Regions from separate parts of the Homo sapiens genome. Here region 2 is linked to region 1. The links are contacts of gene promoters, found by promoter capture Hi-C in human tissues and cell types (Jung and others, 2019). All regions are on one chromosome and are shown on one strand. The core of a region is centred on a gene start or on the middle of the fragment in contact, and the rest is flanking DNA. Distances in the headings are between cores, read along the strand shown. Region 1 holds the start of MNX1 (motor neuron and pancreas homeobox 1). Region 2 overlaps NOM1 (nucleolar protein with MIF4G domain 1).

Evidence for each region. The method cuts DNA at HindIII sites, captures the fragments that hold promoters and counts their contacts. A contact is called where the count stands out against the background at its distance.
Region 2: a fragment that was not itself captured here is called in contact with the fragment with the promoter of MNX1 in region 1 in 1 of the 25 tissues and cell types used here (adrenal gland).

Annotation. Positions count from the first base shown.
Region 1 is chr7:157,009,296-157,015,247 of GRCh38, reverse strand. It overlaps MNX1 (motor neuron and pancreas homeobox 1), which reads left to right and starts at 4,585. Exons shown (of 3, transcript NM_005515.4): 1 at 4,585-5,588. The coding sequence starts at 4,898. MNX1-AS1 (MNX1 antisense RNA 1 (head to head)) reads right to left here and starts at 4,391. Exons shown (of 2, transcript NR_038835.1): 1 at 3,941-4,391. RefSeq lists silencers at 4,174-4,783, 5,294-5,363, 5,374-5,423. The HindIII fragment of the contact is 12,613 bases long and covers 842-5,952 here.
Region 2 is chr7:156,964,093-156,970,044 of GRCh38, reverse strand. NOM1 (nucleolar protein with MIF4G domain 1) reads right to left here. Exons shown (of 11, transcript NM_138400.2): 8 at 3,643-3,775; 9 at 2,953-3,084; 10 at 849-958; 11 at 1-516. The coding sequence ends at 342. Among named protein-coding and RNA genes, the nearest start is that of NOM1, 17 kb to the right of the region's middle. RefSeq lists a silencer at 1,524-1,715. The HindIII fragment of the contact is 5,101 bases long and covers 415-5,515 here.

The DNA of each region.
Region 1 (5,952 bases), core at 3,336-5,835:
CAGACCTGGGCCCACCTCAGGCCCCGCCTCGGTTTGAGGGTTTGAGCTGCAGGTCTTTGGGTTGCTAATCCTGAGCCTACCCTTTCCAGACTCCTTTAAGGCCCAGCTCCCAGGGGCCATAGAGGAGGTCAGCAGATCAAAGGACAGCATGAATGACTTGATGCCTTTGGCCCCCATTGCTCTGAAGGGGCTGGGGTTGGTGGGGGGACCTGAGCAGATGTCCCCAGCTCCGGTGAGCCTAGGCCCTCTCCACAGATTCTCCTTCCCTCTGAGCTCCAGGAAGGAGGTCGGAGCATCTCCCAGCAGTTCCTGCTCTGACCCTCTGGGCTCCCACTCCAGCCTAACTAAGCTACTTCCTGTGCCAGGGGCAAGTCCCATCTCAAACTCGTGCTTAGGTCCCTCCGGCCAGTTACACAGCATCTTCATGCCTGTTTCCTGAAGAAAGCCTTGACAGTTTACATTGAAACGGAACTGCATGAGTCCCCGAAGACCACATGGCTTCAGCAGGACAGGACTAATGTGCCTGGGCCCCTCTGCAGCCAAGTCCTCTCTGTTGGCCCTGGGCTTCAGTTTTGGAAATGCAAGATCTGCCCCCTGCTTCAGCCACCCAGTGCCCTTCCAGGCAACTGCTCCATTTCACATGGAAAAAAAGCAATATCTAAATGATAAATAAATGCATGATACCTGCCTCGCATCTTGTGAATATGTGAATGTACAGGTTTTTTCCCCAGTCCTCACGGGTTCCCAGTTGTGTGTGTAAGTCCAGATGTAAACAGACACAGACTACAACGGCGTTTTCTTTTGTGATGGTTTGTAGAAATCACCATCTCCTTCCCAAGTAGTGGAAGGAAGGGCAGCTGCAGGCACTCTTCAGTTCCTTAACAGGAGGCCTGTAGAAAGCAGGCTCCCGCGCTGGGCAGGGAGGAGCTGTGGTGGGGGCCAGCTGATTAGGGTGCACCAGGCCCTCTCTGCCTGTCTTGAGAAACCAAGAGCTCCAGGGAGAACTCTCCAGGGCTGAGTTCTGCCCCTGGGGCCGCTGGAGAGAAAACTCACCTGGAGACTCAGGTTTGGTAGCACTACTAGGATCAGACCTTTGATCTCTCTTTGTGGCCCTTCCCAAGACCCAAGCCCAGCTCCAGACTGCCCCAAAGCCAGCTGGGCTGGATCAATACAGATACTGGGAACAGGAAGAGACCCAGCAGGCTCCGCCTCACACATTGTAAACCACACAAAGATCCACACTTCCCAGATAGCTCCCTCTCTCCCCCACACCTGCCTCTCTCCATGCAGCTTTACAGAGAACCTCCTTTTTATATTAACATATTCTTAAATATAAGCAGAACATCTGATCATTTTAAGGCCCTATAGCTCCTTAGAGTCCATTTGGTCCAACCCCTGCTTCTGTAGACAAAGAAACAAATCCATCGAGATAAGGAGCTTCAGATTCCTGAAATGGCACCTCAGCCAGAGGGGCGGTCCGGACAGGACGCAGGGCTGCTAGGCTAGGCCTCCTCGGACAGCCTTGCACAGCCCCACAGGTGGTACAGACACCTGAAGGACCTGCACACGTGTTGTCCTGTCTGTGTTTTCAGGGAGGTGTCCTCAGCAGGTCTCAGGCAGAATAGAAACATGAGACAGGGTGTGAAGGGGTTTTGGACCATGGTTATTACAGAACAAAAAGGGGTGAAATTAATTCCTCTAGGAGTTAAAAAAAAAAGCCAGAAAACACCCACTGTGATTTTGTTGAAGGAGATGGCTGATGTCATGAGTCTAGACTACACACCCCATCACCAACTAAAATCACCCTGGCAGTGTGTATTTTTGGTTGGAGAGAGGAACAGCATCTTCTCCAAGGTCCATCCTGGGAGATTTCTTCTGCAGCCACTCCCTTCCCCCAGCTCCCTAAATCATTGACCTCAGGACCAAGCAATCTGCCCCCAGCAGATGGGGGTGATGAGAAGAGAAAGGCAAGTCAGCCTTGGTGCCAAACCCCTGGAGGAGGAGGCCAAGGCTGTGTTCTCTACCCTGGGGAGGCAGAGTCACAGCTAGGGCTTCCTGCCTGGGACAGGTGGCTAAGAATCTCTGGTCTCCTTTACAATCCTTCCCTCCCCAAAAAGAAACAGATGGGATGGGGACTCAGGGCTAGGTGTACCTGAAAGCTTTGAGGGCAGCAGGGTGGGAACAGTGTGGCCTCTGCAATCAGACCTGGTCCCACTCCCAGCTCTAAGGCCAAACTGTCTGCTGGGAACAAGGATCCCAAACTCTCTGAACTTGTACTCTAGAAAATGGAGATGATAGCCCGGGCACGGTCGCTCATGCCTGTAATCCCAGCACTTTGGGAGGCTGAAGTGGGTGGATCACCTGAGGTCGGGAGTTCGAGACCAGCCTGACCAACATGGTGAAACCCCATCTCTACTAAAAACACAAAAATTAGCCTGGCCTGGTGGCACATGCCTGTAATCTCAGCTATTGGGGAGGCTGAGGCAGAAGAATCGCTTGAACCTGGGAGATGGAGGTTGCAGTGAGCCATGATCATGGCATTGCACTCCAGCCCGGGCAACAAGAACAAAACTCCATCTCAAAAAAAAAAAAAAAAAGTGGGGGGCGCCTGGCGCGGTGGCTGACTCCTGTAATCCCAGCACTTTGGGAGGCCGAGGCGCGCGGATCAGGAGGTCAGGCGATCAAGACCATCCTCGCTAACACGGTGAAACCCCGTCTCTACCAAAAATACAAAAAAAAAAAAGAAAGAAAAGAAAATGGAGATACGGAGATGATAAAAATCTTCCTTCTAGTGTCATAGTGAAGATTACGGATGAGAATTGCAGAAAGCTCATAGCACATAGTAGGTGTTCAAGAAATGCGCGTGTTTCCCTCTCTCCAGTGAGAGGTAGAACTGCATTTGTGTCACCACAAAGACATCTAAAGGCACGACAAACTCCATGTGAATGCCTGGGATTTCTTTTTACCAGTGGTCGGCTCTGCAAAGCCAGATCACATTTACTCCAAGTTGCAGTTACTCATCCATTGCCATCCTCCTAACCTTCCAACCAGTCCTGTGCATCTGGGAACTACCCTGTGTTATAATGAAAACGATACCACTCATGGCAACAGAGTCACTGTCATCAACTCTCGCCTAGGTCAAAAGCCTTTTGAGGAGAAGTGGCAAGGTCTCTATATTTGCCTTTTTAAAAATCCCTCTTGTAGCAACCTGGCGTGCTAATTTTGAAGTTTACCTGGCACTGAGTTTCTCTTTGGCTCTCTCCCCTCTCCACAGCCCCTTCCGGTCCTTTATTCACCTCTCACCTGCATAGCAAGCCCTGGAACCTGGAACTCCCTCCCAGTTCTCACGCTTGCTGGGGAAGATAACTGGGTCTAATGGCGCTATTGACAAAGCCTGGTGTTGATGCCGCTTGACTTCCCGACCCCTGTGTGGATTCTTTCAGCTTCAAAAACGCCCTTGGAAGTGGTTTTACTGTAAATATTTGAAGTGTGCGTGTGGGGGAGGGGTGAGACCTGGATGCTCACTCCGTGCCTCGCTCACTCACGGGAAGCCCTTTCCTCTCCACTTCCCAGGAGGCCCCGGCAGCACGAGAGACATAGCCTTTCCCCGCTCCTGCCCGGGGACTGGCCGGGGGTCGCAGCGGCAGGGCTTCCGAAGGATGCCGGGCCCCACGGGTTTTTCAGGGCCGAGGTGTGTGGGCCTTGACTCCCGCAAGCCCATGGGCATCCCTCGGCAGCGAGGAAGAGCCTTGTCACCGAGGACCCGCTCCACTGAGCAGGCACGTGGGCGACGTCTGCAAGCCGACTTGGGTTCTGCAGGCCAGAGCGCCCAGATCTACCGTCTCCGCCTTGACTGGGGCAGGGGCTCCCAGAGAGGATTCGTGGAGGCCAAACTCACACTCACATGCGCGTTTACACCCCCACACCCCCGCACACACACCTGAAAATGCGGGGCCTTCCCATAGCAGATAAGGTTCGACCTGCAGAGCTTTGGCCACGGGGACAAAACCCTCCCCTGCTGCGCCCTGGAGGCCCGAGAGCAGGGAGGGCTTGGGAAACACCACGGTCTTCAGTGCGCTGCCGTCGCCTCGCAGAGCGGCCAGGTCTGCGCAGCGTGGGCGCTCAGGAGCGTGGAACCACCGCGCTCCGCAAGGCAGACGTGGACCCACTCCAGCGCCGACAAGGAGGCCGGAGAGGACGCGCGCAGCTGGCTCCAGGGACCAACCAAGTCCGGAGGGGCCCACGTGTCTCGGGAGCGGGTCTTGGGCCGCCGCGGGGCTCTCCAGGGGCCCGGGGGTTGCCAGTGCCCGCCGTCCGGCTCCGCACCCAGGGGAGGGCGGGCAGAGGCCCCAGGTTGAGCCTCGGAGTATCCACTCCCCGTTGGTGTCCCCGCCCGCCAGCGCCGCGCAACAGCCCGGGCTGCTTAGGACCTCGCGGCGCGGGGGCGGGGCGGCGGGCGGCCGGGACGGTGACAGGTGCGCCCCTCGGCCAATGGCGGAGCCCGCGGCCCTCCCCGGGCCCCCGCTGCGCGCGCCAATCGGAAGCCGCGCTGAGCTTCAAGTGCGCGGAGGGGCGCGGGTCCCCACCACGGCGGCAGCGGCCTCCGCGCGGTCGCCTGAGGGCTGCAGCGCAAAGAACCGGGCTCCCGGGCCCGGACGCGGGGAAGCACTCGCGTGGGAGTTTGTGCGAGCGCGGCCCGGGGCGGGGCCCGCACGGAGGAGGCGCCGGGACCATGGTCACCCTCGGCTGAGTTTCCGGCGGCGACTTTGATTATTGGCAAATAACCACCATAACAATACCGAGCCCCCGGGCTTGCACCGCACGCACTGACTCCGCGAGCCCGCACACGGCCGCGTCGCCCGCCACCGGGCCCTGAGCGCCAGCCCCAAACGAGCCGATGGAAAAATCCAAAAATTTCCGCATCGACGCCCTGCTGGCGGTGGACCCCCCACGAGCCGCCTCTGCGCAGAGCGCGCCGCTGGCCTTGGTCACGTCGCTCGCCGCCGCCGCATCTGGCACCGGAGGTGGCGGCGGCGGCGGCGGGGCGAGCGGCGGGACTAGCGGCAGCTGCAGCCCCGCGTCCTCGGAGCCGCCGGCTGCGCCCGCCGACCGCCTGCGCGCCGAGAGCCCGTCGCCGCCGCGCCTGCTGGCCGCGCACTGCGCGCTGCTGCCCAAGCCGGGCTTCCTGGGCGCGGGCGGCGGCGGCGGCGGCACGGGCGGCGGGCACGGGGGGCCCCACCACCACGCGCATCCGGGCGCAGCGGCCGCTGCCGCCGCCGCCGCCGCCGCCGCCGCCGCTGGGGGCCTGGCGCTGGGGCTGCACCCTGGGGGCGCGCAGGGCGGCGCGGGCCTCCCGGCGCAGGCGGCGCTCTACGGCCACCCGGTCTACGGCTACTCCGCGGCGGCGGCGGCGGCTGCGCTGGCGGGCCAGCACCCGGCGCTCTCCTACTCGTACCCGCAGGTGCAAGGCGCGCACCCCGCGCACCCCGCCGACCCCATCAAGCTGGGCGCCGGCACCTTCCAGCTGGACCAGTGGCTGCGCGCGTCCACCGCGGGCATGATCCTGCCTAAGATGCCCGACTTCAACTGTGAGTACCCTGCGGCCCCCGTGGATGCGCGTGGCGGGAGGGCCTCGCGCATCCTCCACCGGCACCGCCTGCCCCTCTCTGCGCTTGGCTCCCAGCGAGCGGGGGAAGAGCTGCGAAGCCGCCTCGGCTCTGCCCGGGGCCTGCGAGGACTCGCCCGGACCCCCAGGCATGAGACGGGCAGCGAATTATTAAAATGGCCATGCGCAGGCCTTGCCTTCTCTTCCTCTCTTAACGGGAAGGGGCAGTTGGAGGTGTGAGACTGAGATCTAATGATTAACCCGAAGGCTGCAGGAGAAGGAAGTCGCCGGGGGAAGGCGAGCCGAGAGCGCCCTGAATTAGGCAGGCCCGGGAATGGGGGTCAGGG
Region 2 (5,952 bases), core at 1,716-4,215, 44 kb after region 1:
AAGTGCTGGGATTACAGGGGTGAGCCATCACGCTCGGCCATATCTATTAAAAAATTTTAAGACAATCATACACACCAGCCTCACTGCTTAGAGAACCCTGTCCAGTGTGCCTGACCCCTTTTCCCTCCCTCCTTCTCCTCTCACCCCCAAGATAGTTATTTGAAAATGGCTTGAAATACAAACAATAAAACCTTAGATCAAAAAAAATCTCAAAATATAATACATTAACAGACAATGATATAGCTCTACCAAACATTCACACGCAGGCAACAGAATAAGCCTTTGGGTTTACCAAGGACATTTTACAGTCAAAGGGCCACCTGCCCTCCTTCCTTCCCTGACTACATTCTCAGGGAAGCTTTTCCTTGCAGACACTTCGTTGCAAGGTCAGCTTTCTCTCTCAGCACGTTGGCTTCGTCGGCGCTTCTGTGGGCCTGTGCGTTCTTTAGCAAGAAGTGGCTGATGAAAAGCTTCAAACCCTCACGTAACACCCCCAGCTTTGGGTTGTCAGATACTCTGGAAAGGAATCGTATAAACACATGTCAGGGCTGAGCTGGCCTCTCCTAGATCTCAATCCTGGGTATCTCGCATAGTGAGACATAACCAGTTTCTTTTAAAAATAAAATTCTCAATTAAGAACTTCTTAACATATTTTATTATTAACAATCATTGTTAGTTTGCTAGCAGACAAGTTTCTATTCCCCAGATCTAATGCATACCAGCTTAAAAATAAAACCGAAAAGATTAAGCTACACGTATAGTACAACCTTGTGTTTGTAAATCAACACAAGTGAAAACAATCTCTTCATTTCTCTTCCATGTCTCGTCGGAAAGGGTGGGGCACATACCTTGTGAAAATTAAACTGAGGTCTTCAACTTCTGTTTCCATTAATAGGATACTTAATACTTTTCGTAAAAAACGGACTCTGGGTTTGTCCAATTCACTGAATTCAACTACCTAATGGTCAGGACATGGAGAAAAATAAAGTTACACTGATTTAGCCAACTTTTTCAATGATTTGTAATATAGTTAATTAGAGTAAAAATTAATCTCCCCCCTTCCCCCACTCTACCCGATTTAAGAAGCTATTTCCAGAGCTAAGAAATGAACACCTGTTGGCAAGGATGTGGGCCTTGGGAATTCCTACACACTGCTGGCAGAGGTGTGGCCGGCCACAGCCACCGTTGAGAACAACTCAGCAGTGTAAGTGGAATTCCCGGGTCATACACCTTATGAATCAGAAATTCAGTATCTAGAACTGAACCATAAATTACCTCCATTCCCAAAAGTACCCATCCCCTAATTAAAACTATATATATATATATATATATATATATATATATATATATATATATAAAATTTACTTCTAGAAGACTAATCCATATATATCTCTGCCCTAGAAAACTATCAAAAAATCAGAAATAAACACGGATCAGTAGGATAAGTAAGTATATAAACTGAGGCATACGTATACAGTAGGATGCTACCCAGAACAGACTCACGGGCGCCAACGTGGACCCACTGCAATCTTAGCTGAATGTCAGCGAGCTAGAGGAGGGGACTAAACGCATGGTGACGGGAATGCTACCCACAGGGAGGTGCGCAGCCAAACACCATCACAGGCGCTTGCGGACCCGAGGACGCGGCGAGACCACAAAAGCATGGTCGAAACACAGAGAAACTCGGAATGAGAGCAGCCCGGAGGGGCAGGGCGGGGGGCATCTCTAAAGCTCTACGCCTGAGGGTGTGCTCCTGCCACGCCTCTCCCGCTCATCGGTGGTAGCATCTGTGCTGTTCCAGGATGAGCGCAATGCCTGGGCGAGCGAAAGGCAAGGCAGGGGAGCGGAGGGGGAGCAACGCCTCCTCCATGAGCTAAGTTATTCCAGTTGTCAGGATTTGGCGTAAGGCTCGGTGCCCTCATTTTCAGTACAGTGGCCAAACTTGGACACCACACAGCAAGGGACGCAGGGTGAACTGGAGCCGGCATGCTGATGAACTGCACACGACACACAGAAACACACGGGAAGCTGTGGCTGCGGCTGTCTTGTGGGTCTGGGCCACTGCAGTCAACGCCCCTCAACTATCTCTGCTTTTCACTTCCCTTTGCCCCCCAGGCGCTCCAGTTTTTTTTTTTGGCTATTCAGAGTCTGTTGGTCCCACCATCCAAGCCTTACAGGCCCACATCTAACCCCAACTCCACCTGGTAAGATGTCTAGGTTTCAGCTGGGCGCACTGGCTCACACCTGTAATATTAGCACTTTGGGAGGCTGAGGAGGGCAGATCACAAGGTCAGGGGTTCCAGACCAGCTTGGCCAACATGGTGAAATCCCGTCTCTATTAAAAATACAAAAATTAGCTGGGCGTGGTGGCATGAGCCTGTAATCCCAGCCACTTGGGAGGCTGAGGCAGGAGAATCGCTTGAATCCCGGAGGCAGAGGTTGCAGAGATTGCACCACTGCACTCCAGCCTGGGTGACAGAGCAACTCCCATCTTGGGGGGGGAAGAAAAAAGATGTCTGTGTTTCATGGTCCACTGCAAAGTCCCAAAACACAGCAGGGCAGGAGAAAGCCTACAGTTTTAAAACACCTTACATCAACGTGAGCAAACTCACCTCACCTCTAAGGAGACCAGGCCCTACTTCATCCGCCCTTCTCCTCACTAACAGTGACCAGTTCAGGATTTTATAATTAGGACCAGCAAATTAACCTCAAGCTCCAAAACACATTCATTCAGATTAGCAAAAGAACTGCAGCGGTGCCTTCATTTACCAGATCAATTTGTAGCACATGTTAGTCTGGCCGTTTTCTGTCCTGGCTAGGATAATGCAAGCACTTTTCAGATGAATCAGAATCGAAGAAAATACGCTGGTAAAACAGGACCTGATTTACCAGGTACTAAACAATTACACTCCCATTTCCATTGCTTTCAATATTTTCACACGTTACACGAACCTTTAAGATGGAAAGGGAAAGCGATTTTGTCTTCAACAAGTGGGCCACCAGATGAACCAAATTAGAGAAATTCGTAGCTGGCAAGTTTTCCAAGTCCCGAAATTTGTCCCATATGCTGAACTGGAAAGTCATCTAGTATCATAGTTAAAAGGAGAAAAAAGGCAAACGGCCACAAATTACTATAATATATCACTAACAACATAACCTAAAGGTATTTTCTTATTATCTTATTTTTAATATTCTAAACATCAAGACTTTTAGTGGTGGCCTCACTGTTCTTGCCTATAGAGCATAGTCCCAAACAGCTTCACAAGAATCTCCTTCTGGTGCAGTTCTTCCCCCCAAATCAGCAGATACTAACAGAACATTCTAAGGAAAAGGCCACAGCAAGGGGCATCAGAACAGACTGGTGCACTGTGAACCGACGAGGTGCTCCTGCTGGCCTGGCCACACTGCCTGCATCTGTGGCAGAAGCAGGTGACATGAGGACATGGTGGACCCTTGACACTCCCCTCTAGCCCTCCCACTTCCGCTCCCAGTGAAGGTGGCCTGGCAGCCAGCGTGGACCAGGTGACGGGGATATCAGGGGCCTCCTGACTTGGGGAACTCCTTTGCAGGTGGGTTGAGCCAGGTAGCCTGTGTAGAAAAAATAGTAGAGCGGACGTAACTGGTGCCTCCGCACTAAGCTACCTGAAATCTCCTTTCATATTCACAGAATTTGCTAGCCAGGAAAGCATAGAAGGGATTGTAAGTTTTCTCTTGAAGGCAGCAATCCATGAGAACGTGAATGATTTCTCTCTCCTGCTGATCCTTAAGTCCAAGCCTAGAAAACAGAACAGCAATGACTGGAACATCACTCGACTTCCAAAGTTTAATGGCTGATACCTTTCAGGGGAACATCTTCCCGCCTGGAAGGGTCTGGTTAGAGGCGAGCCACGTAAAGGAGGTGGAGGCAGCGGCAGACACCAGCTAGGGGCCCAGCCCTGTCACAACCTCTCTGGTCCTCAGGTTCTCCTACAATGTGGCAAAATGTCAGAGGAGACAAGACCATCTAGGGGGTCCCCCGTCGCTGCAAAAGTCGACAGCTGTGCCCGGCTGACAATAAACTGACTCAATCGTGTGTGCCCTTAGAGCTGGTTCCTGCTATGGCGATGACTTCACATTTTCTTACTTTTTTTTTTGAGACAGTCTTGCTCTGTCACCCAGGCTGGAGTGCAGTGGCATGACTTCAGCTCACTACAACCTCCATCTCTCCGGTTCAAGTGATTCTTGTACCTCAGCCTCCCGAGTAGCTGGATTACAGGTGCCACCACCACCCCCAGCTAATTTTTGTGTTTTTAGTAGAGATGGGGTTTTGCCATGTTGGCCAGGCTGCTCTCGAACTCCTGACCTCAGGTGTTCCACCCACCTTGGCCTCCCAAAGTGCTGGGATTACAGGCATGAGCCACGGTGCCTGCCGTCGTTTGTAAAACTTGAGTTAGAGCTCACACACAGTAAAACCTATCCTTTGTAGTGTAGAGTCCTGAGTGTGGATAAGCCCATATGGTCAGGTCACCACCGGCAATGCCGAAACAGAACTCTCCATCACCCGTGAGAACCTGGGGCCGTGAGCCACCCTTGCCGTGGGCCACTGCTAATCTGCTTCTGTCCCTCTAGTTTTGACTCTGCCTCTGTCACACAGATTCAGGGCAAGGTGGCTTCCTGCACGGCAGAATACACTCGAGAGTCACCATGCTCTTGGGGCCTTGGGAGTTTGCCCCTCGTGATGCCAAGTAGTAAGTATCCCTTAGACGGCGTCTCATGGTTTATCCTTTCCCCAACTGAGGGGTATGTGGGCTGCTTCCAGTTTCTGGTGAGATCCGAATACGGCTGAGGCTGCCACCTCTGCACAGAGGCAGACACTCTGTACCTCAGGAGAGGAGCACCAGCTCCACTGCAAACAGCACAGCCCCACGTAGAGCACTCAGGTGAAGGCAGCGCAGGCGGCGAAGGCGGCCCAAAGAACCAACTGAGTTTCAGCTGCATTGATTATCAATTCATGTTGATTAAAAGCTTAGACTCATAACTCATGATTTTGAGGAATAAGAATGGGAAAAACTATTGTTTAATACACGTAGTTTGATAGGCCAAAATTTTCAACACATGAAGTCAACCAGAGGAAAAATAAACGAAGTCCTTCGAGTACAAAGGATAAGCTAGACCCGCTGACTAGAGAATAAGAGTTCTCCTCAAAAGAGCCCTTTTAGAGACCAAGGGTGACTAGGGAGATGGGAGGTTTTCGGCAAAACGGCAAGGCCACAGAGAGGCAAAGGGAACTCAGGACTTCCACTCCAACTAGAAACTCTAGTTTAGAAAATAAAACCCTAATTATCAGAATCCTAAAAGGAACCATGTTCTCCCTGTATTTCATCCTAGTTTGAAGCAAATAAAAGAATATGTATTAACATTACATTGTTTAGAAGTACCTCATAAAACTACACAGGTACATTTAAAGATTTTTTTTTTCTTTTTAAATGAGATGGGGGTCTCAGTATGTTGCCCAGGCTGGTCTTGAACTACTGGGCTAAAGTGATCCTCCTGTCTCAGCCTTCTAAGTAGCTGGGATTACAGGATCTTTAAAATCTTATTACAACTAATTATACAAACTATACCAGGATGTTTTAAATGAAGAATCAGAATAGCTTTATTATGAAGATTTATGTATTTTTAAGCAATTCGTGACAACCAACAGCCACTGACAAGGTCATCAGATACTTTCAGTCAAAACTCCCCAGTCTCCAGCCTGAGCAACATGGCAAGACCCTGTCTCAAAAAAAAAAACCCCAAACCCCCAATCTTTATATATCATAAAATGTTCTAATGAGGAACTACTAGAGGCAAATTAATAGGAACATGACGACTAACCCAGAGATGCACGAATCCAACAGCGTGAGCGGATGGTCATGAGAACAGCCCAGTCCTCCCTAGGCAGCATCAGACTCAGTCGTCCAAAACTCAAAA